Linked DNA regions of Homo sapiens: regions 1, 2, 3 and 5 are each linked to region 4. Evidence: promoter capture Hi-C in 16 types of primary human blood cells and fetal thymus (Javierre and others, 2016). All regions are on one chromosome and are shown on one strand. The core of a region is centred on a gene start or on the middle of the fragment in contact, and the rest is flanking DNA. Distances in the headings are between cores, read along the strand shown. Region 1 overlaps LOC105376447 (a long non-coding RNA gene). Region 2 has its middle 38 kb from the start of COMMD3. Region 3 holds the start of TRN-GTT2-3 (tRNA-Asn (anticodon GTT) 2-3). Region 4 holds the start of MIR1915HG (MIR1915 host gene). Region 5 has its middle 6.5 kb from the start of COMMD3.

What was found. The method cuts DNA at HindIII sites, captures the fragments that hold promoters and counts their contacts. A CHiCAGO score of 5 or more calls a contact.
Region 1: a contact is called between a fragment that was not itself captured here and the fragment with the promoter of MIR1915HG in region 4, in 3 of 17 cell types (total B cells, fetal thymus and naive B cells). The highest score is 9.2, in total B cells.
Region 2: a contact is called between a fragment that was not itself captured here and the fragment with the promoter of MIR1915HG in region 4, in 1 of 17 cell types (total B cells). The highest score is 5.1, in total B cells.
Region 3: a fragment that was not itself captured here is called in contact with the fragment with the promoter of MIR1915HG in region 4 in 4 of 17 cell types (non-activated CD4 T cells, naive B cells, fetal thymus and 1 more); the score reaches 8.1 in non-activated CD4 T cells.
Region 5: a contact is called between a fragment that was not itself captured here and the fragment with the promoter of MIR1915HG in region 4, in 5 of 17 cell types (total B cells, fetal thymus, non-activated CD4 T cells and 2 more). The highest score is 11.4, in total B cells.

What each region holds. Positions count from the first base shown.
Region 1 is chr10:22,246,647-22,251,241 of GRCh38, reverse strand. It overlaps LOC105376447 (a long non-coding RNA gene), which reads left to right. Exons shown (of 2, transcript XR_001747390.3): 2 at 1-3,822. Among named protein-coding and RNA genes, the nearest start is that of TRN-GTT2-3, 19 kb to the right of the region's middle. The HindIII fragment of the contact is 225 bases long and covers 2,785-3,009 here.
Region 2 is chr10:22,275,895-22,280,040 of GRCh38, reverse strand. No RefSeq gene overlaps it. Among named protein-coding and RNA genes, the nearest start is that of COMMD3, 38 kb to the left of the region's middle. RefSeq lists an enhancer at 1-275. The HindIII fragment of the contact is 4,043 bases long and covers 1-3,415 here.
Region 3 is chr10:22,228,884-22,233,220 of GRCh38, reverse strand. TRN-GTT2-3 (tRNA-Asn (anticodon GTT) 2-3) reads left to right here and starts at 3,639; the gene lies at 3,639-3,712. RefSeq lists a silencer at 3,938-4,187. The HindIII fragment of the contact is 2,697 bases long and covers 640-3,336 here.
Region 4 is chr10:21,494,871-21,499,322 of GRCh38, reverse strand. It overlaps MIR1915HG (MIR1915 host gene), which reads left to right and starts at 2,063. Exons shown (of 2, transcript NR_160800.1): 1 at 2,063-2,573; 2 at 3,378-4,452. MIR1915 (microRNA 1915) reads left to right here and starts at 2,682; the gene lies at 2,682-2,761. RefSeq lists silencers at 2,583-2,832, 3,043-3,092, 3,143-3,582, 4,396-4,452 and an enhancer at 4,007-4,452. The HindIII fragment of the contact is 8,649 bases long and covers 1-4,452 here.
Region 5 is chr10:22,307,732-22,312,086 of GRCh38, reverse strand. No RefSeq gene overlaps it. Among named protein-coding and RNA genes, the nearest start is that of COMMD3, 6.5 kb to the left of the region's middle. The HindIII fragment of the contact is 2,535 bases long and covers 1,074-3,608 here.

The DNA of each region.
Region 1 (4,595 bases), core at 1,648-4,147, 750 kb before region 4:
TTTATTAGGGAACCTGCTAATAGAAGCAATTTCAAGTGACGGGCTTCCCTCAGTAAAAAGCTGGAAGCAATGACATCTTTTCTATCTGAGTGACTCTCCTTAGTCGTGGTAAATAAATAAATAAATAAATAAATAGATAGATAGATAGATAAATAAATAAATAAATAAAAATTAGTTTACATGCAGTGTTTGAAAAGAAAATGATTTTGCTTCCCAAGTTTTTATGTGTTTTCTTTTTTACCAACTATATTTCACTTTATTTACAATTGTCAGTTTATTCTCACACCTTCTGGTTAGTTTTATCTTCTCACCATGGTCTGTTAGAACCCCATCCTCGAGCAAAAAAACAAAAACAAAAACCACCCCCCCAAAACAAACAAACAAACAAACAAAACAGGTGTTCATCCCTGTGAGATGCTAATGCCCCTGGAACTGTTTGAAAAGAGCAAAATTTTGTAAGGAGATTCTTTTCAAAAAGTGTTAGAGAAGTATTCTTCAAAAACATCTTAGAATGTTTCCTTAAAAAATTTCCTTTCTTGGTTTTCATTAATTGCCTTTGATTAAAATTAGGTTACAAACATATCTTAATTTCAGACTGTTTCTTTATAAAAGAAAGGAGAAAGTAAATAGGTGTTGGCAAGGACTAAACCAATGCAACTAGGCCCTGTTGAGAGCCTAAATCTGTAAACTGGTACCCTTAAAAAACATCAATCAACTTGAGGTTCGTACAGGTAGTTCTTTGACTCAAACAGTTGATTTTTAAAAGTCTTATAAAATAGGTTAAAATGTGTTTTTAGTCCAGGTTCCTACTTCTTTGTTATGCATTTCTCCTCGTAGATAAATAAATGAATCTAACTTGATGAGTAGGTAGATTTTTCTCCAGAAGAACTTTCTAAAAATGGGCAAAGTTAGGGAAGTGATTAATACCCTTCAGTTTAATTGGAATTATTCAGTGCTTATACCAAGTTAATCCTATTAAGATGCTATTTCCTGCTCAGGGGGATAAATTAAGCACAACTTAGATTATTTTAGGTGGACAACTGGTATATAGTCTAAGCAATGGGGGCTGGAAAAAAGTATCTCTTCTCCAAAAAATATAGATTATGTACCAGTAATGTTCAAAGTACTTTGAGGAAGTGTATTGATGGGATGAATATAAATCATAGTGACTGTTGTTAAGGGGTTTACGGATTATAAAGAGCAATTGAGCTTCCTTTATTTTCTCTTATTTAGAAAACAAACATTCATAAGAAAAAAATAAAATTAGATCCCTTCTTTTGCCCACATACAAATTCAGTTTCAGATCAATTAAAAAGTTAAATAAGAAAAATAGAATTAAAAAAATATTGGAAGGCTGGGCGCAGTGGCTCACGCCTGTAATCCCAGCACTTTGGGAGGCCAAGGCGGGCAGATCACGAGGTCAGGAGATTGAGACCATCTTGGCCAACATGGGGAAACCCTATCTCTAGTAAAAATACAAAAATTAGCTGGTTGTGGTGGCACATGCCTGTAATCCCAGCTACTCGGGAGGCTGAGGCAGGAGAATCGCTTGAACCTGGGAGGCAGCGATTGCAGTGAGCCGAGATCGCGCCACTGCACTCTAGCCTGGCAGCAGAGTTATCTCTGTAACTCTCCATCTCAAAAAAAAACAAAAAAAATTGAAAGGAAATATAGAATTTGTAGTATGAAAGGATTTCTTAAACAAAACATTAAAATACACAATCCATTAAGGAAATGATCAATTGGATGACAGTCATGCTCCAAATAATGATATGTTAGTCAATACATGATAATAGTCCCATAAGGTTATAATATTGTATATTTACTGTACCTTTTCTATGTGTAGATGTGTCTAATTATACAAATACCATTGTGTTACAATTGCCTACAGTATTCAATACAGTCACATGCTGTACAGGTTTGCAGCCTAGGAGCAATAGGCTTGTACCATATACAAACCATCTAGGTTTGTGTAATTACACTCTATGATGTTAGCATGACAAAACTGCCTATGGACCTATTTCTCAGAATATGTCCCTGTAGTTGAGTGCCATGTGACTGTATATAAAAATTTTTAAAAATACTTTTTACATGACAAAAGATATCATAAAATGTTACAAGATAAACTGAGAAGATATTTTCAAGGCATGTACTTGGTGAAGGATTCATATTCAAAATGTATAAATAACTTATATAGAAAGAATTTACTAATTTATGTATAATGAATTTCATAAATAAAAGATGTGGGCCAGGATATATACATATGAAGTGAAAGTATAGTACTATCAATAGGATGAATACATATCAACTTCAAAAAATGTAATTTCCTTTGGGATAGAAAGAAAGAAGGAAGGAGGGGGAATAGGAAGAGGGCAACAACTTCCTGCCCAGGGGGCAACAACTCTTTTTTTTTTTTTTTTTGAGACAGAGTCTTGCTTTTGTCCCCCAGGCTTGAGTACAATGACTCGATCTCGGCTCACTGCAACCTCCGCCTCTCGGGTTCAAATGATTCTCCTGCCTCTGCCTCCCAAGTAGCCAGTTAAGGCACCTGCCACCATGCCCGTCTAATTTTTGTGTTTTTTAGTAGAGACGGAGTTTCACCATTTTGGCCAGGCTGGTCTCGAACTCCTGACCTCAGTTGATCCGCCCACCTCAGCCTCCCAAAGTGCTGGGATTACAGGCATGAGCCACTGCGCCCAGCCCACAGCAATTCTTTATAAAAAGATCAGAGGCAACTATGGGAAGACATTAACACTTTTTGTTCTTTGTAGATTGTTAAAAGCTTGTTATAATTTATTTAAAAATCTCTAACATCAATTCCTAGTCTAAAGAATGAACAAATGACACATTTCTTTTCCTTAGTCAATAATAATCTTGTAAGATGGTGTTCACGTGCTTTTCTTTGAGGGCAAAGAAAACACCATTCCCCAGTGTTTTTCCTGGGCAGTGTTTGAATATTATATGATACTCACAGCAGAGATTTTCCTAGTTTGGCTTCTGTTGTAAGCTTGTTTTCTGAGTAGATTTAAATGAGAAGAACAGAAACATATTTGAAACTATGACTATGTATAAGAGCATTTATTCTCCTATAATGAAATCGTGGAAAATGTTTTTAAAAAGTGAGCAAACAAAAACCTCCACACCATTATAGAAACACGGTTAAAAAACTATTGAATAATCTCAAGCCTAGTGTGTAATAATTATTAAGTGTGTCTAATTTGTTGTGCTAAGTGTCAGGAATTGGTATTGTGGAAGGATATGTGAGATCTCATTTTCTCCTTTTATATGGCAGGAGTTTATACAGTATTTACATCTGTCATTGATACTTTTTATGAACAGAAGTTTTGTTTACTTATAACTTCCACAGGGATTATTCATATGGAGCACTGGAAAGATGTAACATTTCATTTGCTTTGATACCTTGTGTTTATTTTAGGTCGAAAAGCATCATGAAGCCAAGTGGTTATTGTTTTGCTTATTCAGTGTGAACTGAGTGAGCCAGGTTTGTATACCAAGTGATTCTCGTGGTGGACAATACCAATATGATTATGCCAAATGCATTGCTTCTGAGGCATCACTCTTTGGGCACATATAGACCCTGCTGATTTCTGCCAAAGCACTCTTCTTAAAGTTCCAAAACATTACCCCAAAACCTCTATAGCCCCCTATTGCCAACAAAATTAAAGCCTTTCTCTTCATTGGCATTAGAAGCCCCTGTAACCCATTGCTTTTCCATTTCCAGCCTCTTTCCAAAATTACCAAACAAACTCTGTATCCTGCAGCCACCAAACTGTACTAGTTGTAATATATTCACTAAGAACAGTGGTCTCTCATTTGTCTCTCTTTTCTCTCTTCTTATATCAGTTAGAATGTAACAGACAACCCAGCTAACACAGAGGCTCATTTTTCTTATGTGACAAGAAGTCTGTAGATAAAGAGTTGCTAGTGTTTTCTTGGGGGTTCAGTGATATCACCTCTGTGATTCAGTTGACCTTCATATCATAGTTGCAAAATGGCTGCCGTAAGTACAAAAACCACACTGACTGCTGGGTGGGAAGGCAACAGAAAATTTGTTCTTGGTGAGTCTTACTCACGTCAAGGAAGTATAATATTTTCCAAAATGCCCCACCAAAGGATTTCCTCTTACATCATATTAGCCAGAACTGGGACATATTATCACCCTTTATCTGGGGTAGAGGCCCACATTTCCACATCAAAGGGAATTTGCTCAATGCCTAAATCAAACTGGAATTCAGTTAAGCAAAGAAGAAACAGAGGAATGGTTTTTGGGTAGGCAGTAAACACTGTCAGCTACATCTCCCTGAAAGCCATCACTCCCTTAAAATATCTTTGCGTAATGTCATCAGTTACTTCTGAACTTTTTCATCCAATGGACAGTGTTTATTTTCTAACTTACTTGAACTTTTTGTGGGGCTTAGCCACACCCTTTTTGAAATTTATGTATTCATCAAATACCCACTCATCACTTACTGTGTATTAGTCACTCTGCTGGGCAAAGAGAATGAAAAAATGAGTCATGCATGGTCCTGAACCTTCACAAGTTTATAGCCTAGTGGGGCAGACAGGTGAATAAA
Region 2 (4,146 bases), core at 145-2,644, 780 kb before region 4:
CGATTATGGCAGTGTACGTCATGATGGAGGTGGTAAGAAGGGATTGGTGTCTGCATAGGTTATAAAGGTAGAACCAATAAGACCTCCTCACAGGTTACATGTGGGGGTGCAGGAGAAGAGAGAAGAGCCAAGGATGACACCAAGGCTTTGGACCTGAGCAATTTGGAAGGAGGGAGTTACCATTTATTGAGATGGGGAAGAGAGTGGGATTTACAGTTTTTATCTGGGGGAAAAATCAGAAGTTCCATTTGGGACACAGTAAATTTGAGATGCCCGCTAGATATTCATGCCATGCTGTATAGGCAGGGATATATTTGAGACTGCAGTTCAGGGAGGAGGTGTGAGCTATAGGTATAACATTGGGAGCTGTCAATACAGAGGAAGTTTGTCAAGCCTAGAGATTACTTGAGAACGACCTAGGAAAGAGACCAATTCAAAGACTGAGCCTTGGGGTGCATCAACATGTAGACTTAAAGGAAAAAAGCATCAGGAAGAAAATTAGTGGAAAATCACTGCCATGTTTGGAAGGAGCACAGGAGGATCTTGTCGCATTTTTAAACTAGATTCATCAGTTTCCCAAGACCATATTCTCTTTGTTTACTGAAAACTTGGCAGCCGTGTGTAAAGTGGCATTGTTTCTTTTCACAAACAAATTAGAGCCCATTTAGTACTGTGTTTGAGTGCTATTAAATATTTAGGTAATCAGTTGTAGGACTAATTGACCTTTGGGGATGTCTTTGTAGCCCCTTCTAGAATGTCAAGTGTTTTGTTTTTAAATAATAAAAAATTGTTCCTTGAGAGTATGCAAATCAAATTCTCAGTCCAGTTAATTACATATTAGTGTTTCGTTAAGTAAATCTGCTTAAGGCGAAATTGCTCTACAGTCAGTTTTAGCGAGTAACCAACTGATATTCGGGGTCATAGAAGGTCTTTAATGCAGGAATAATGTGAATCAAGGGAAATGTCTGTGAATTATATGGTAAGAGTTGTCTTTTCTCTTTGCATGGAGGTTTTCCAGCTAATTGAGTTCATTACTTGTCCCATTAAAGGAGATTAAGTATGTCAACACTGTAGCTGGATAATAGAAGGTCTGTAGCAAAAGTACAGCTCATGCTAAAGTTCAAATCTTTATTTCTAGGGAACAAGATATAGAGATAACAAAGGGAATGAGGAAAAGGAGGTTTCAGCATTCCAGACCGAATATGAAAAGAGGCTCGGCAGGCGACAGGGCATAGCCAAGAATGAAAAAGGTGGGGGAAATCTCACAAGATATTCTCCACTTCTTCAGGTCTGTCCCTCTGTTAGATACATTTCTGTTCTCCTCTCTTCCCCATCTTAGTAACCTCATAACACATTCACCATGAGGCGGGAAAATAGGGTCTGGATGCAGGAAAGCTAAGGCCAGATTCACACTTCAGCTATAACAGGAAATATCCTCTCCATAGGGCATACAATCAGGAAATGTCTTTGTAACTTCACTTCATCCTCTTCATTTACATAGGGTGTACCCTAAGTAGAGGGAATTTAAATTCACAAAAACTGTAACAGGGCCTTTGTGCCCCTATGCTCACTCCCGCTGCCCGCTCGAACACTGTGGAGTGTACGTTCTTTTTTGTTTGTTTGTTTGAGATGGAGTCTCGCTCTGTCGCCCAGGCTGGAGCGCAGTGGCACTATGTCGGCTCACTGCAAGCTCCGCCTCCCGGGTTCACGCCATTCTCCTGCCTCAGCCTCCCGAGTAGGTGGGACTACAGGCGCCCGCCACCACGCCCGGCTAATTTTTTTGTATGTTTAGTAGAGACGGGGTTTCACCATGTTAGCCAGGATGGTCTCGATCTCCTGACCCCGTCATCCGCCCACCTCGGCCTCCCAAAGTGCTGGGATTACTGGCGTGAGCCACGTCGCCCGGCCGGAGTGTACTTTCATTTTCAGTAATCCCTTCATTCCTTCCTTGTTTTGTTTGTGCGTTTTGACGAATTCTTTGTTCAAGATGCCAAGAACCTGGACACCCTCCACCGTTAACAACCATGCTATCCCACCTGAGTAACTCTGTTATTTTACTAGCCAGAATATTCCTGCTAAGGAGCTATACCAAGGACACACATGTATTGTGCATCGTAGCCAGACGTTGCCTTCCTGCTGCAGTCTGTATACATATGAGCCAGGTGTGGCAGACACTGCTATTGGCTCCCAAATCCATTCTCTCCCTTTCTCTACAGTAACTCTGGAATTTTAGCAGACACAGACCACACAGAATAAACATTACTTTTTCCAGGCTCTTTTGCCATTCCATTCTGACAACATACCCATTTTGAGATTTACAAAAAGTTTTGCCTCTTCCATGAAACCTGATCCGAATCCTGTATCTGAAAGGTGATTTTATTCTTCTGTGAATGATCACAGGATTTTACCTGCACCTCTGTTATGACATTTATAAAAATGTCTGATACACATTCCTTAACACTTTTTTTTGAGACACAGTCTTGCCCTGTCGCCGAGGCTGAAGTGCAGTGGTGTACGTATAGCTCACTGCAGCCTTGAACTCCTGGCTCACGTAACCCTCCTGTCTCAGCTGCCTGAGTAGCTGGGACTACAGGCGTGGAATCCCATACCCAGCTAATTTTTAATTTTTTAAAATTTTATTTTGTAAAGTTAGGATCTCTCTGTGCTCCTCAGTTTGATCTTAGACTCCTGGCCTCCTTCACTTTGGCCTCCCAAAGTTCTGGGATTACAGGCGTGAGCCACTGCACCAAGCCACATTCCTTAACACTTCTATCTTGTAAGCTCCTTGGACACATGAACTGGATTTGGTTTATGTTCCATAGCCTCATATCAAGTACTTTGCAAGTAGAAGGCACTCAATCAACATTTTTTGCGTATGGCATTGTGGAAATAGGTCCTTTGTTACACTCTTCCCACTTGTTTTGGACTTCGCTCTCCTTCTAATGTTTTATTTTCAAATCTTTATTATTATTGTTTTTTGAGATGGAGTCTGGCTCTGTTGCACAGTCACGCAATCTCTGCTCACTGCAACCTCCGCTTCCCGGGTTCAAGTGATTCTCCTGCCTCAGCCTCCCAAGTAGCTGGGATTACAGGCACCTGCCACCATGCCTGGCTAATTTTTGTAGTTTTAGTAGAGATGGGGTTTCACCATGTTGGCCAGGCTGGTCTCGAACTCCTGACCTCATATGATCTGCCCACCTCAGCCTCCCAAAGTGCTAGGATTACAGGCGTGAGCCACCGCACCCAGCCATCTTTATTCTTTTGGAAGGAATAAAGACAATGTAATTGAACTTGAGAAAACAGAAATTAAGTGATTCTACTTTTATTTTTCTGTCTTCTTTAACATCTTTGCCAAATAAGAGGCTCCTAATTATTTCATTAGTTACACTTCTATTTAAGACAATGGTGGAAAGCTTCCTTAAAATATACTCTCACTGTTACTCTTTTGCTTGAGAACCTGTGGTGGGCCTCTACTCCTTTCTGTGTCAAATCTGAATTCCTCTGTGTCGTTTTTCAGTGAATTCCTCCTGTGGCTATCGAAATGTAACTTCTCCCACTCCCAAGAAGAACCTTCAATCCTATCCCGTTAGACTCCTCACTGCATGGGAGTGAGCCCTGTTAACTCCCACTCCTGTTATTTTGTTTTTTCTCTTCCTCCAGCTGATACCACCTTTTTGCTCTAAGTTTCTTGTGGAAATCCTATTCATCTCTTAAGTGCCTACTTGAAATTCACCCTCTCCTTGTAATTTTATGGTAGAACATTGGCACTTATTAATTGCTTTCTTTCTGAAACTGCATTTATAATTTACAATGCTTTTCGTAACTTAATTTCATTTAAAATGATCTCTGCTGTTTAATTGTTTGTACCTAACTAAATTATAAGCTGTTTGAATTCAGGAATATATATTTATATACTGATATTTAATTATGGTTAGTTATAGTTACATAATCACCAAATAGCAGCCTAGTCAAGGGCTGGGTACATAATAGATATTCAGTAGGTACTTATTGATGGATGGATTGGTTGGGTGCAGAAGTATATTCTTTAACTCTGAGTGAAATATAAACTAATTTGTTTTTAAAATTTTGTTTAGGTAACATATACATCTAATTTTATTTTTCATATCATTTTGAAATGAACTGAAT
Region 3 (4,337 bases), core at 739-3,238, 730 kb before region 4:
ACAAAGTAAAAAATATATATATAATTTTTGTTTGAACCCACCAGGCAGATTATTGATGCATTATTTTGCCCCCCTTTAGCTTTTCTCTTAAACCATGTCTTTTTAGAGATAATTATCTGAATAATTTCACAAGATTTTCCAACTAAGTGATACAACTTTAAAAAATAATAAAAAAGAAATATACTAATATACCTTAATGCTGATTGCCTTTTTTTTTTTTTTTTTTTTTTTTTTTTTGAGATAAGGTATTGCTCTGTCACCCAGGCTGAAGTGCAGTGGCATAATCACAGCTGACTGCAGCTGCAACCTCAACCTCCCCGGCCTCAAGTGATCCTCCTGCCTCGACTTCTCAGGTAGCTGGGACTACAGGCACACACCACCACACCTAGCTAATTTTTGGATTTTTTGTAAAGATGGGGTCTTCCTATGTTGCCCCAGCAGGTCTTCAAGTCCTGGTGTCAAGCTATCCTCCCGCCTCAGCCTCTCAAAGTGCTAGGATTACTAGTTGTGAGCCACCATGCCCAGTCGAATGCTAGCTTCTGTGATGCTCCTTTTGGCTTGTTAAACATAACTGACCTTAGTCCTCCAGTTTTATATGAGAAGGATACTTTTGGTGAGTAGGAAACGTGGTTTTAAGCTTGAGGCTGGTTGGAAGGGTTCGATTTACTTTTACTCATAAATCAGTTGTAAAATATGATTAGCATTTGTTTTGAGAATTGGTTTCATAATTCTCCTCTTGCTCTTAGAGACATCTGTGTAGTGTTGTCTTTTAACTTATTTCCTGGTGCCACCACCTTCCACTTATTGGGATGACTTCTGTAACTCACTTGATTTAAAAAACAATTCCAAACTTTGTTTTTCTTTGTTTTGAGACGGAGTTTTTGCTCTTGTCACCCCGGCTGGAGTGCAATGGCGTGATCTTGGCTCACTGCAACCTCTACCTTCCGGGTTCAAGCGATTCTTCTGCCTCAGCCTCTCGAGTAGCTGGGATTATAGGTGCCTGCCACCACGCCTGGCTAATTTTGTATTTTTAGTAAAGACGGAGTTTCACCATGTTGGCCAGCTGGTCTTGAACTCCAGACCTCAGGTGACCTGCCCGCCTCAGCCTCCCAAAGTGCTGGGATTACAGGTGTGAGCCACCATACCCGGCTATTAAAAAAAATTTTTTTTAACTGGATTTTTCGTTTTTAACGACTCCGTCACCATACTTCTGAAATACAGAAATGAAGAAGAATTCAGGTCATGCACAATCCTGCTAATGGCAACCCTGTGAGTTGCCTATGCTGTTGGGATGAAGCTGGAAGAATATTATCTGAAAGCCTTGGATTCATGGTATCTGGAAGGTGTTAGATCAGTGTGGTCCATTGTGGCTTGCCTGTTAAGACAGGTGAATCCTATTTGCACAGATCTTCTTGCTTTTCTCTCTTCCTCTCCAAGAAGAAAATAAAATATATATGCCCATTAATCTGCACAGATGAGCCCCATTGATAGGGCATATTCTTAGGAAAAGTAAATTTGCAGTTCAGTTGTGTATAATACACAAAAAAGGGGGCAAAATGCCCAGTTCATTTTACTTTTAGCAGTTATAAAGACCCAAGTGCTAATGAAGCTATAGGACTCATTTATCTTGGGTTATCTTAAAATTAAGAAAAGATAATGTATGTTTCTAAAATTAATCCAGTGGGCTTAGTTTGGCTTTAAAAACTGAACATAAATATTATGGCCTAAGATGAGATAATCACAAAGATTTAGATGACAATGCATTCTTCTCCCTTATTTTTGTTAGTGATCATTCTGCATAAAAGATGTGCTTGATATATACCATTGGAATAAAATGTTCAGAGTCCATTCAATATTTTAAACATTTATATGCTCCTTTGAAGTAGTTTCAAGTGGAGAGGGAAAACAAGGCAGAGCTAAGTAACCGTGGAAACAGCCATTTTATGTAAAATGTTAAAAACTACAGAACCAGGCTTGAAGACAGTTTTAAAACCAATAGTGGTACTTACATAGACAATTTTTTAGCCTAGAATGAGTTAATATTCCTTTCTGAGTTAGTTTTTCTCATCGACTGTTTCTCATTATCTCTCTTGTTAGAAGTCAAATGCTAGTATGATGACTGAAGTGAGGAAAAGATATTGGAGCTGAAGAGATTTACATGAGTAGAACCGTTCCTAATATTACTTTAAACAGAAGAGTAAACATTGAATGATGGGGCAGTGAAGTACACCCGTTGCAGTCTGTTCTAACTGGATAGTCACAAAAACAACAGAGGAAAGGACACTCAGTTTGGTATTTGGAGAAGAAAAGCCAGTACCTGATAGTTTTAGCTCCCATTAACAGGTACATATAATATTACCAAGTACAAAGCAGCATCGTCTAATGAAATGAGACTTCTCATACACTCTGTAGAAGCATTTCCTAGATTGTTTTTTCAAATTCAAAAATTTCAAGTGCACTTCCAAAAGTTTGTTGAAAGTGGCGTGGTGCAGCTTGGCGTGAATTCACAGCTGTTTAACATCTCAACGCTTTCAGGGAACTCGGCTTCTAATTGGTTCCAAAGCCAATTTAAGTTGTCTTACCATGCAACGGGAACTCAAAATGCTGATTGGACCAAGACGCGTCGCTTACAACGTCTATAAATCATGATAGCGATTGTTTTTGGAGGGATTCTGTACAGAGCGGTTTAGTGACTGTTAAAAATTTAAACACGTTCACGTTCTCAAGTGGAAACTCGCAATTATTTGAGGAGAGAAGAAGGGAGAAAAAGAGCGTTTGGAACTTAGAAGTGTACCTTAAAAGGCACCAGGAAACATTCACACAAAGGGAACGATTTTCATTGAAGTATTTATAGGAATGGAGCATGTTTACCTGCAGTGTTTCTGTGCTAAAAATTTGCAGGAGTTAGTATAAATCATTCCTTTTTCTTCTTTAACTTCTCTTTCCTCAAATTGGGTTTTATTTATCCCTCGAGATGTGTGTTTTAAGTGCTATGCTTCGATGTGGGTGTGTAGGCTAATTCCAGGGACGAGGGCAGATTTAGCAATAAACTACAACGCACTGGAACTAAGAAATGTTCCTGTAGCTTTTTTTCCCTGATGTTTCTTTCCAGTAACAAAATGTTAGTGTGAAATCATTGTACTGTATTTAGTACAAAACAAATAGGGATTTCATCTATGCATTTAGTAATACCTGAATATAAAAATAAAGCAGCCAAATAAAATTCAGATGACCTTGGGAATACTACACAAGTAAATCACGAGAGATGAGCGAACGAAGCACTGGGCAAATTGTTCGAAACAAAGGGAAAGTTTCTCAGCTCACAAGATGAAAGCTTTGATTTTCTCATAAAAGAAAACTAATAAGAAATAGTTATTTTCCTGAAATACAACGTTCCAAATGGGAGTTGGCGGGGGGGAGCAACAGTATTTTAATACATTTTGCAATCTGCAATGCTGCTTGATTTTGTTGTATAATTTTGCGATATGCTTAAAAGGTGGAAAATAGAATTAAGAGGGTTGGAAACGTGAAGTAAAATATTTTGGTTCTGATAGTACCAATCAGAAAGCAGAAACAGCCACACACTGCCTTTATTATTCTTCATAAAGGCTGAGGCAGAAGGGGAAAATGACACCGAAGTCTCTGTGGCGCAATCGGTTAGCGCGTTCGGCTGTTAACCGAAAGGTTGGTGGTTCGAGCCCACCCAGGGACGCGCTCTCCTTTTATGAGCTGGTCGCGGGAAGTTTTGCAGAAATCGAGTTCAGGCCTCCGGGATAAGAAGGGGTGGATTTCCAGGGACCAAGCAAAGAAACCACCGACCCTTACACTACGCGGCCAGCCGGCGAGCCCTTCGCTTTCGGCCGGTGCAGAGCGGCCTCCTCTCCCCCGCTGTCCTCTCCCGGCTGCAGGTGAGCGCGGCCACTCCTTCCCCGGGGTCTTCACGGCGGTCTAGGCCTCGCCAGGGTGCTGGAGCGGGGACGCGCAGAGGCCGCGCGGGCCCGTTTGCCGCGCGCGCCCGCCGCTCCAGCTCTGCGCGTCCCCGGAGGCCCGCGCGTACACGGGGAAGGCGGCCCGGGCTGGTCTTGCTCGGCTTCGTGACGCGTGAAATGTAACGGGGCCACCGAAATGCATGTATTTCAACAGTGTCAAGTTCAAGCTGCAAACTGAAAACTCCTACATTTTGTTGAAGCATGGCCGCCCTTTTGTCTGTTCCCTGTCAGCGTAAACATCTCCGTTTGCGACTTAAACATTAATTGTTCCTGGTATTAATGCCTTCAGAAATAATTTTTGTGTAGTAAATCTTTCGTGTGGACAATATTGTAAGAATATATATTATA
Region 4 (4,452 bases), core at 814-3,313:
GAAAGATCAAGACACTTTGTGAATTTTCCCCAGATAATGCCTCATATTCCGAATGACTGATCAGAGAACTCCGGTATTGTTAAATAAAATGAGAGGAAGGCGAGTGACGTGGGAGTCGAACAATGGCATTTCTGAATCTGTTTGCTTGATTGACATTTGGGAGCTTCATGACCCCAGAGAATAGGACTCATTACGGTGAATACACCAAAACATCAACCAAGATTAGAACTCTAGATGCTGTTTTAATCCCATTCCAGTCCAAATTATAGTGGGAAAATATAAAATCCAAGTGCAGAGAATCACTCCGTTATATATTGACCTAAAGTTTTAATTGTACTAAGGGGGAAATAAAAGTGGAAACCCTCTATACTTTCCAGAATTTTAGATAGAGCACTGACAGGGAAAATGCATGGATTTGGTAGCGGAGGTACTAAGAATATTTGTGTGGTATACAACATGTCATACTTGGGAGACACTTTATTGGAAAAATAAGTAGAGAGTTTTTTGTATGTATGAGAAAAATATCATAACCATTTCCACTTAAAAAGTGAAGATCATTCTGATGCCCCAAAATAACTGAGGCTAAGAAATAATTAGATACCTTAAAGCTACAGTCTAAATTTCCATGACTGTTTGGAAGACTTCTCTCCAACGCGGGAGGGGAATTTGTTTTTTAATGTCAAAGGTTGTGTTAGCATGTACATTTAACCCAGGAAATTGTGAGAACTCTCTTCAACTCAAGTTGGAAAAAGGGAATGTGTTTGAGCAAAGTCTATTTTTAACAACAGAAAAGTGTGAGTTAAAGTGGACTGTGTGTTAGGTTGGGAATATAATCCATGGCAACTTCACTATACAAGTATTTTTGATTCTTCAGTGGAACTCATCCTCAAATTTTAGTAACTTGAAAAATTGAAGTCTTAAGTATTGTGTATTAAACTGAACCAAGAGATCACAGAAAGACAAAGCTATGGTAAAAGATGTTATAGTTATATTCTCATAGATTTAGTAGGAAAATCACAGCAAAGGAAATGCACCAGGAAGATATGAAATAGAGGAAATATGTTACAAATAATGAAATAGAAGGAGTTGCTGCACAATATAGCTTCACAATCTTATATTTTGAGGGGTAGGTTTTAATGAGAAGCCTCTGCATTGCATGGGAACTGGGAGTCGTAAGAATTATTTATGCAGTAAGAAGGAAAAAAATTAATTATTAGGAGCTCAATAATCACCAAATAAACTCTGAGCTTGGAGGTTAAAAATAGACGGCTATCTTCATGTTCAATTATACAGTATCAATTACTAATACAACTGATGTTTCAGTGTCTCAGCGAGAACAGATACCATCTTCTATGGAGATATCTTGGTATTAATTAATGACTGCTTTATTCTCATTATTCACAAGGAAAAATAGGGGTCGTGTCACATTAAAATTAAGATTATCTTAGTTTATCTGGGCTCTTAAACAAAGATCATTCAAAGTAATTATACTTTGAATTAATCGAGGTAGGCAATTTATCTCGTTATTTTTTTTTGTTCAAAGACAGGAAAATAAAGATCAGAAATAAGCAAAGTTTCATTTTGAAGATAGAAAGAACCAAACAAACATGTCTTGACTTTTGCAGTATTTCCCTTGCTAAAGGGGGAATGAGGGAACTGTAAAAGACGTGACTTTGCAAAGTCAAGTCCTTTTTAAAAGACTCGGATCGAAATTCTTGCTATGCAACAAGGATTCAAGTTTGATTAATTTTCTGCAAGCGACGTGACAGCGGTGTTTTAAAAGATTAATTAAAATTGAAGTGATACGGAGCAGGAATTCAACCTGCAGAGGCGTCCCTGGCGCCTTGGGGGGCTTTGTAAGCGAGTCCCAAGCCCGAACTGCGGGCTTTCCCGAGCCTGGGACGCAACTCCCCGTCTCCTGGAGAGGAACGCGGAATTTGGCAGGGCGCCCGCCTGGCCGCCTGGCATCCTGAGCTGGCCGCCAGCTCTCGGGGGGTGGGGACTGGGTGTGTCCTGGGGAACCCGCTGCCGAGAGAGCAGCTAGCGCAGCTCGCGACGAGCCATTGAGGACCAGGGTCGCGCCGAGAGGCCGGAGGGGGCTCCAGGCAGCCTGGAGCTGACGGCGCCGGGCTGCGTCCTCTTCACCTGGGGGTGGGGGGTGGGGGCACGTACTTTGTGACCAGGATGGTGCCGAGCCCCCTCTACGGCGGGAGCTTGCAGGGGTGCGGGGGTGTGACTGGCGCTCCGCGGACTCGTGTCCACAGTACAGAGGACATGTAGGGTTCGGCCGGGGCGCGGCTGCACCGGGGCCTGCCTCGCGGACCTGGACTCGGGACTCCGGGCGGCCCTGCCTGGTGCCATTGCCTCAGCCAAGTCTCCCACCTCTCTGCTCGGTTTCCCGCCCCACCTTTCCCCTACTACCGCATCCCTGTCCCCTCGCTTCCCTCCGCGATGTCTCCATCCGAGTAAGAAACGAAGCTGAACGCATTGGTAACTGTGCTCAAGAAGATGCAATCGCGGGAGCCCTCAGGGTGGCGCACGGCGGAGAGGCGACGCGGGTGGCGCTGCAGAGGGTACGGTGGGGGGCGGGGAAGAGGGGGGCGTTCGTGTGCAATTAGCCTCCCCAGGGCGCGGACCACGGTGTCCCCTTCTCTCCAGCTGGGGGTCTCGGGTCCTGGCGCTGAGAGGCCGCACCTTGCCTTGCTGCCCGGGCCGTGCACCCGTGGGCCCCAGGGCGACGCGGCGGGGGCGGCCCTAGCGACCTGCGGCGGCGCCGGGAAAGCCCTGCCTCTGCAGCGGGTCCCAGGGGTCGGGGCCTGGAAGGGTCCCTGGGAATGCTCCGCGCCGAGAAGGCTCTGTGGTTTCTCCTCCCCCACACGTCTCCCTCTCCTCCCCTCTTCCCGGGGACCTCAGAGGTGGCGGGGAAGTGGGAAGGGAGGCGGGCTTGCAGACCGTGCAGGCTGGGGAGCCGGAGCTCGGGAGTTGGGGGAGTCCGAGTGAGAACGGAAGCGCGTGGACGCGATGGAAGGGGCCGGGGGAAAGGGGGACGGCACTGGGGAGGGCTGGGGTGCGGGGCAGGCGACAGTCCCTTCCCCTCCGAGCGGCGCGGGGGACCTCTTCCCCGGGGAACCCCCACCCAGCCGTTCCCAACCTCGAGAACAAAGGGTCTGGGAAGCACGGTCGGGGTCGGGGAGCGGAGGTGGAGGGAGGCAGGAAGGCAGGCGGTGGGGGCAGGGGAGGGCGCCTCCCCACGTTTCCTCTCGCGGCCGAATGATGGAAAGCTCCCTCCAGCAAACGCCTCACTGAGGCCGCTTCTGAATCCGGGAGGGTTCGGGTTCGTTACCTAACGGCTGCACTTCGCTCCCTTCCTCCCCCAGCGTCCCCACCCCCTCCGGGGACCGGGGCCCCGGAGCTGCCAGGCCCGCTGCACGCGGCGGCGCGGGAGAAACCACGGGGCAGCAGCGCCCCCTGCAGGTGCCGGGCGCCTCCGCAGCCGCTGCGCGGACCCGACTCTTAAGGTGGCACCACCGGGTTCCCAGCCCGCGCGCAACCCGCAGCCCTGGCTCCATCCGCCGCACTTCTCCCTGTAGCGGCGGGCCTGACCGTCCGGAACGGCCGGAGTGTGCTGATGCCTGCTGCTATCTGCTTGATCCCTTCACCCTACCTCTCATCCAGGACTTCTTCCGCGGATGCGCAGCTAGCGATTTCGACAGGCGAGATTGAAAATTCCGGGCGAGTATATGAGGTTGAGTAAGTCCCGCTTCAGGGAGGAACGACCAGAATGACATTTCTTTAAGCCTAAATCAAACTTTTATTTTCGTTTATAAAAAGCAGAAGGCCAGCAGGAAAGGGTCGCGGAGGACTGGCACATCCACAACCGTAGGACTCTTGGATCCAAGTTTTTAGGCTGAGACTGGGCGGTCCGGGGTTCTCCTTCGGCGCTCACACCCCGCAAACTCGTGGGCAGTGCAGTGCTGGAGGCCGGGGGCAGTGGCGGACCCGCAGGGTAACCTTGTCTCGCGCACCTCCCGAGCCCCCAGCAGCCCACTCTCGTCCGAATGCTTTGTTTATTTGGTGACACCAGGGAACGTGGAGAAGAAGATCGAAGTTCAGTTTTTCTTTTTTCTTTATTTTAAATATTTTTCTTAACTAAATGGTATGTTTATGTGAACCCATCATCTCTTGGAATTAAGTGTCCTCAGCGAACTCCAGATTCCTAGGGGAAACCTACGTGCCCAGAGCAGGAAACGCACAAGTCAATTCAGGTTCCGGTGCCATCCGCAGTAAATTCCCTTCCTTTTGCTCCAAATTCCTCCTCTGCGTCCAGGAGAGGGACCCCCGGGACTCCCGCACACCCAGGACCGGGAGCGGCAGAGCAGAGGGCGGGTGCGAGGGCGCGAGGGAAGGGAGGCGGCCTGCGGACCTGGGGCGCGCAGTTTCCCGGCTCCGTGG
Region 5 (4,355 bases), core at 1,092-3,591, 810 kb before region 4:
ATCAGTGTTGTCATGCCATGATTTTGTTAGCTACTTGAGTGAGTATAAGATAATGGCAAAATTAAAGGAGCAGACCTAAGAATGAAATTATAACTTTAAATATCAAATCTTTGTATCTAACCAGTCCACAGTTTTAAAAGGATTTCGTGGATATTAGAAAAGTCATGTCTACTCTTTAGGACTTCAGCGTAGCATGTTGAAACGTATTTTAGGAAGTTTGATCCCTTATTTTTAAGCAAAGCAGTTAATGTCACATGGGGAATATCTGAGTTGTAAAGACCAAAATTGTGAAGTCTTCATCTAAGAAGAAATGAGAAATCGATTTGTAAAAAAGAAATGAAAATAAACAAATGTAATTTGGCAAAAGATGAAGGCAAATTTTAAGTTAAAGGAAGGAAGTTAGGAAGAAATGAAAGAAAGCAGTCATACTCCATGTAACATTTAATGAGAAAAGAACAGGTTGCATTATGTGTCTTAGAATTTCTCTGCACAGACAAATAAAAAATAATTTTCCTTTAAATTCCGTAAGTGATTTAAATGATTCACTTATCTTTTGTATGGATTATAAAAAGCAAGTTCAATTCTTAAATCACATAATTTCTATCTTCACCAGTTAATTTATATGAAAATTAGGAACTGGCCAATCACCTAATAAATTCCATCAAATAGACCATTTAGATAATAAGCACAGTTACCTCCTCAACAGCAGGTTGATTTTTTTTTCTGTACTAAAATTATAAACGTCACCACTTCAGTTTCCTATATCATTGATCTGGTATCAGCCAGGATGGCCCATGGCTTAGCTGTAGGAGGGTAAAGTGAAGAAGAGACATGAAACAAGTTTACATTGATGACTGTATCTAATTCTTCCATGTGTACACAGACAGTCCTTTAAATTGTTTTATATCTTTAAAAAGAGGGAGGGAAGGAGGGAAGAAGAGAGAGAAAGGGGGGAAAGAGGAAGAGGAAGGAAGAGAGAAAGGACCTGAGAAGTGTCACAGAAAGCTTATTTAGTGTTTATTTTCTGTGACACAATCCAAGATTCTTTTAGCTACAATGAATTCAACTAAGCTTCATTAGTAAGGCTTGGAAAAGACTGAAAGATCATCTGTTTTGTCCAGAATCTAATCAGTTTCAAGATGTCCTACATTTAGACTACAACAGCAGAGAATGTCTAACAGAGTCTCTTCGTTTTTTAGGTCTGGATTTGGAATCTCTGTGTTTTTTCATACCTTAGAAATTGGAGTTTGGGTTGGTTTCACGAATTCCAGCAAAAAATGGAACAAATGGGCCTATGCTGTGGGATATTATTGTTGAAAGCCAGTAACTTTTTCAAGTTTGTATTTTGAGAACATGCTTTTTACATGTTAAAATGTGTACAAATAAGTATATTTTGTTTAAGGAACTATAATTTTACAAACAAAAATGAAAACAAAAATAAAGGTTTTTGTAGATTAAAACCAAAGTAACAGTATAATTGCTTATAAACTGAAAAATGTAACTATATTCACTTGTCAAATGAAGCATTTTAGAATGGAAGTTAGTATATAAGAAGGGATGATTTGCATTAAATACATTATAAACAGTTAAGGAGACTTTACAGCTAAAGTACTTTTAACTCATTTAAAGTAAGCATTTAAACCAAAATTAATATTTCAAAAGAGCTTACATGGCAATGAAAGCCTAGATAAGTGTTTTAATATTTTTAATTGTGTACAATATTTAAAATGATACTGGTTAAGAATTTAACATTTTGGGCCGGGCGCGGTGGCTCACGCTTGTAATCCCAGCACTTTGGGAGGCCGAGGTGGGTGGATCATGAGGTCAGGAGATCGAGGCCATCCTGGCCAACATGGTGAAACGCTGTCTCTACCAAAAATACAAAAATTAGCCAGGCGTGGTGGCATGCATCTGTAATCCAGCTACTAGGGAGGCTGAGGCAGGAGAATTGCTTGAACCTGGGAGTCGGAGGTTGAGTGAGCCAAGATCGTGCCATTGCACTCCAGCCTGGCAACAGAGTGAGACTCTGTCTCAAAAAAAAAGAATTTAACTTTTCTATTATGGTTGTTATATTCAACAGAATACTGATTTTATCCCCCTTTTCAAATTAAATATAGACTTGAAGCCATTTTATGGATAAGTCAGTCTAAAAACTACATTTTTAAAAATCCTAGTAGAATAATTGTGTTCAGCTTTTTCACATTTGTTACATAGCTAGAACTATTCAGAAAATACTTTGAATTGTTTATACGTAGCTGATTTTTACACCGTGGTGAATGTTTAGAAAGTAGTTTTACAGAGTTTTGAGAAAACAAGCACCTAAAAAAATAGATTAAACTTTTCCACTGTGTTTCTTCCCATATACTCAGTTTTTCCCTGAACTTTTGTTTCATTGTTTTATTAAGGTTAAAACATAAATGTTTTTCTAACTCTCTCAAATGTTATTTTCAAAATTAATTTTCTTTGTGTAAGCATTTTAATCTATATTTTATGAAAGGGGATGGGGAGGCAAGTTTTATAAAATCTTTTTAATGTAACAAAACACCAAGAAAATAATGACTAGCAACAGGTGAAAGGGAGAATTGTATTTATATAGTCAGTTTAGTCCATGTAATTAGAAACTTGGACCTGAATTACTGGCGTAATTACTCAACTTTCTTTTCTTTTTTTCTTTTTTCTTTTTTTTTAATGCTAACAGAAATAGGCCGGATCATTTAGAGCAGCAGTATTCTAAATCAAAATTAATCAGATAATTGGCAACTTTTATTTGACTTTTAGTGCTCTATAAATTACAGACCAAAAACAGGAGAAATTTGCTAAAGAATAACAATGTAGATGGAAATATGTGGGTAAACAAGGCCCTAAGAAAACTGAATTTTCAAATGGTTTTCTTAGAATTTGAAAATGAAAGAAAATTTTAAATTAGGCCTAGCTGTGATATATAGGTGAGTAGTTGATAGATCTATAAGAAAACTTTTATTTTTGCTTAAACAATAATTAAAATGTTTATGAATTGAAATAAAAAATAGTTTTATAAGACCAAAAGTATCAATAAAGACATACATATTTTGTTTTATAAGTTTCAATAGCAATATACATTCTTCTTTATAAAGAACTTTCAACAGTGTATACTGGAAATGTTGGAAAAAAATTGATTTTGCACTTGTCAATTATAATAGAAGGAAAATAATATTCTTACATATGTTTTTATATACTTTTGAAAGTTGCCTTAAATTATTTTTGTAGCAAGATGAACATAAATAAAAATATAAAATACAGATGTTTAGAAGTCAGTTTAACCAATAATTAAAGTGCTTCTAGAAACCTAAAAGAGTGTTTTCAAACGAATACTTTTAAATTAATTTTAATTTCATTTTGGTTTTATTCTATTTCTAAAAGTTGCTATGATCAATATTTGTCTGTTTGTAGAAACTATGACATCTATGATGACAAATGTTCAAACTGAGTCATAATGATAGTCTGTTAGGTTAAAATCAAGAGTCACTACAGGAGAGTAGTCATTTTGCAAACATCCTGCCGTGTTAACAGGGGTTGGGGGAAAGCATATGTCATAAAGTAACAGACTTAAATCTTTAGCTAAGTAAGCTTTAAGTATCTGTCCATTGCTATAAATAGTATAAAGACAATCTAACTGTGTTTGCTTAAGCTTTTTATCTTAGCTTTCTTTTATGGTATTAAAGTTTAAGAAAAGTATAAAGATAAAAACTTGGCTAGATTTAAACATATTCAATATGATTCCTAAGATGGTTTTTTAAAAAAAAAAAAACTTTACATAGAAATGTCATCAGGTTCTTAGGCATAGTTATATGTTAGCCAAAAATTTTAAATCATTCCAGCTAAATATAATAATAGGAGAGTAGCCAGTACTTCTCTGAGTATTATAAGAATATTGCGCCATTCTTTGAATAAAAATAGTCATTCTTTTTTCTTTAAGATATCTCAATAATTATATGAATGATAATTTTGGAAAATATAAGGGTTTAAGTGGCAAATTTAAGTATCAGTGTTTATCTTTTGTTTCAAGTGGAATATCAGTTTTTCTAAAAACATACTCATTTGTAACAAGATTTATTGAAAAGAAATATCAAAAAACTCTTTTTTGGGGAGCATTTATCCAGTAATGTATTCAATTTTATTTAATAGGGAGATTTTAATAACTTTGCTTAACAAGCTGTTTTTTATCTTAATAACTGTAAGGATTGCTATAAAGTTATATAAATAAGTTATAATACCTTCTTAAAGTATACTGAAGTTGATAGGATTTTTAATATGGGTTATAAAAAAAGCACCATAGGTTGTAACTTCTTTACTTTTTTACTTTACTGTTCTCATAG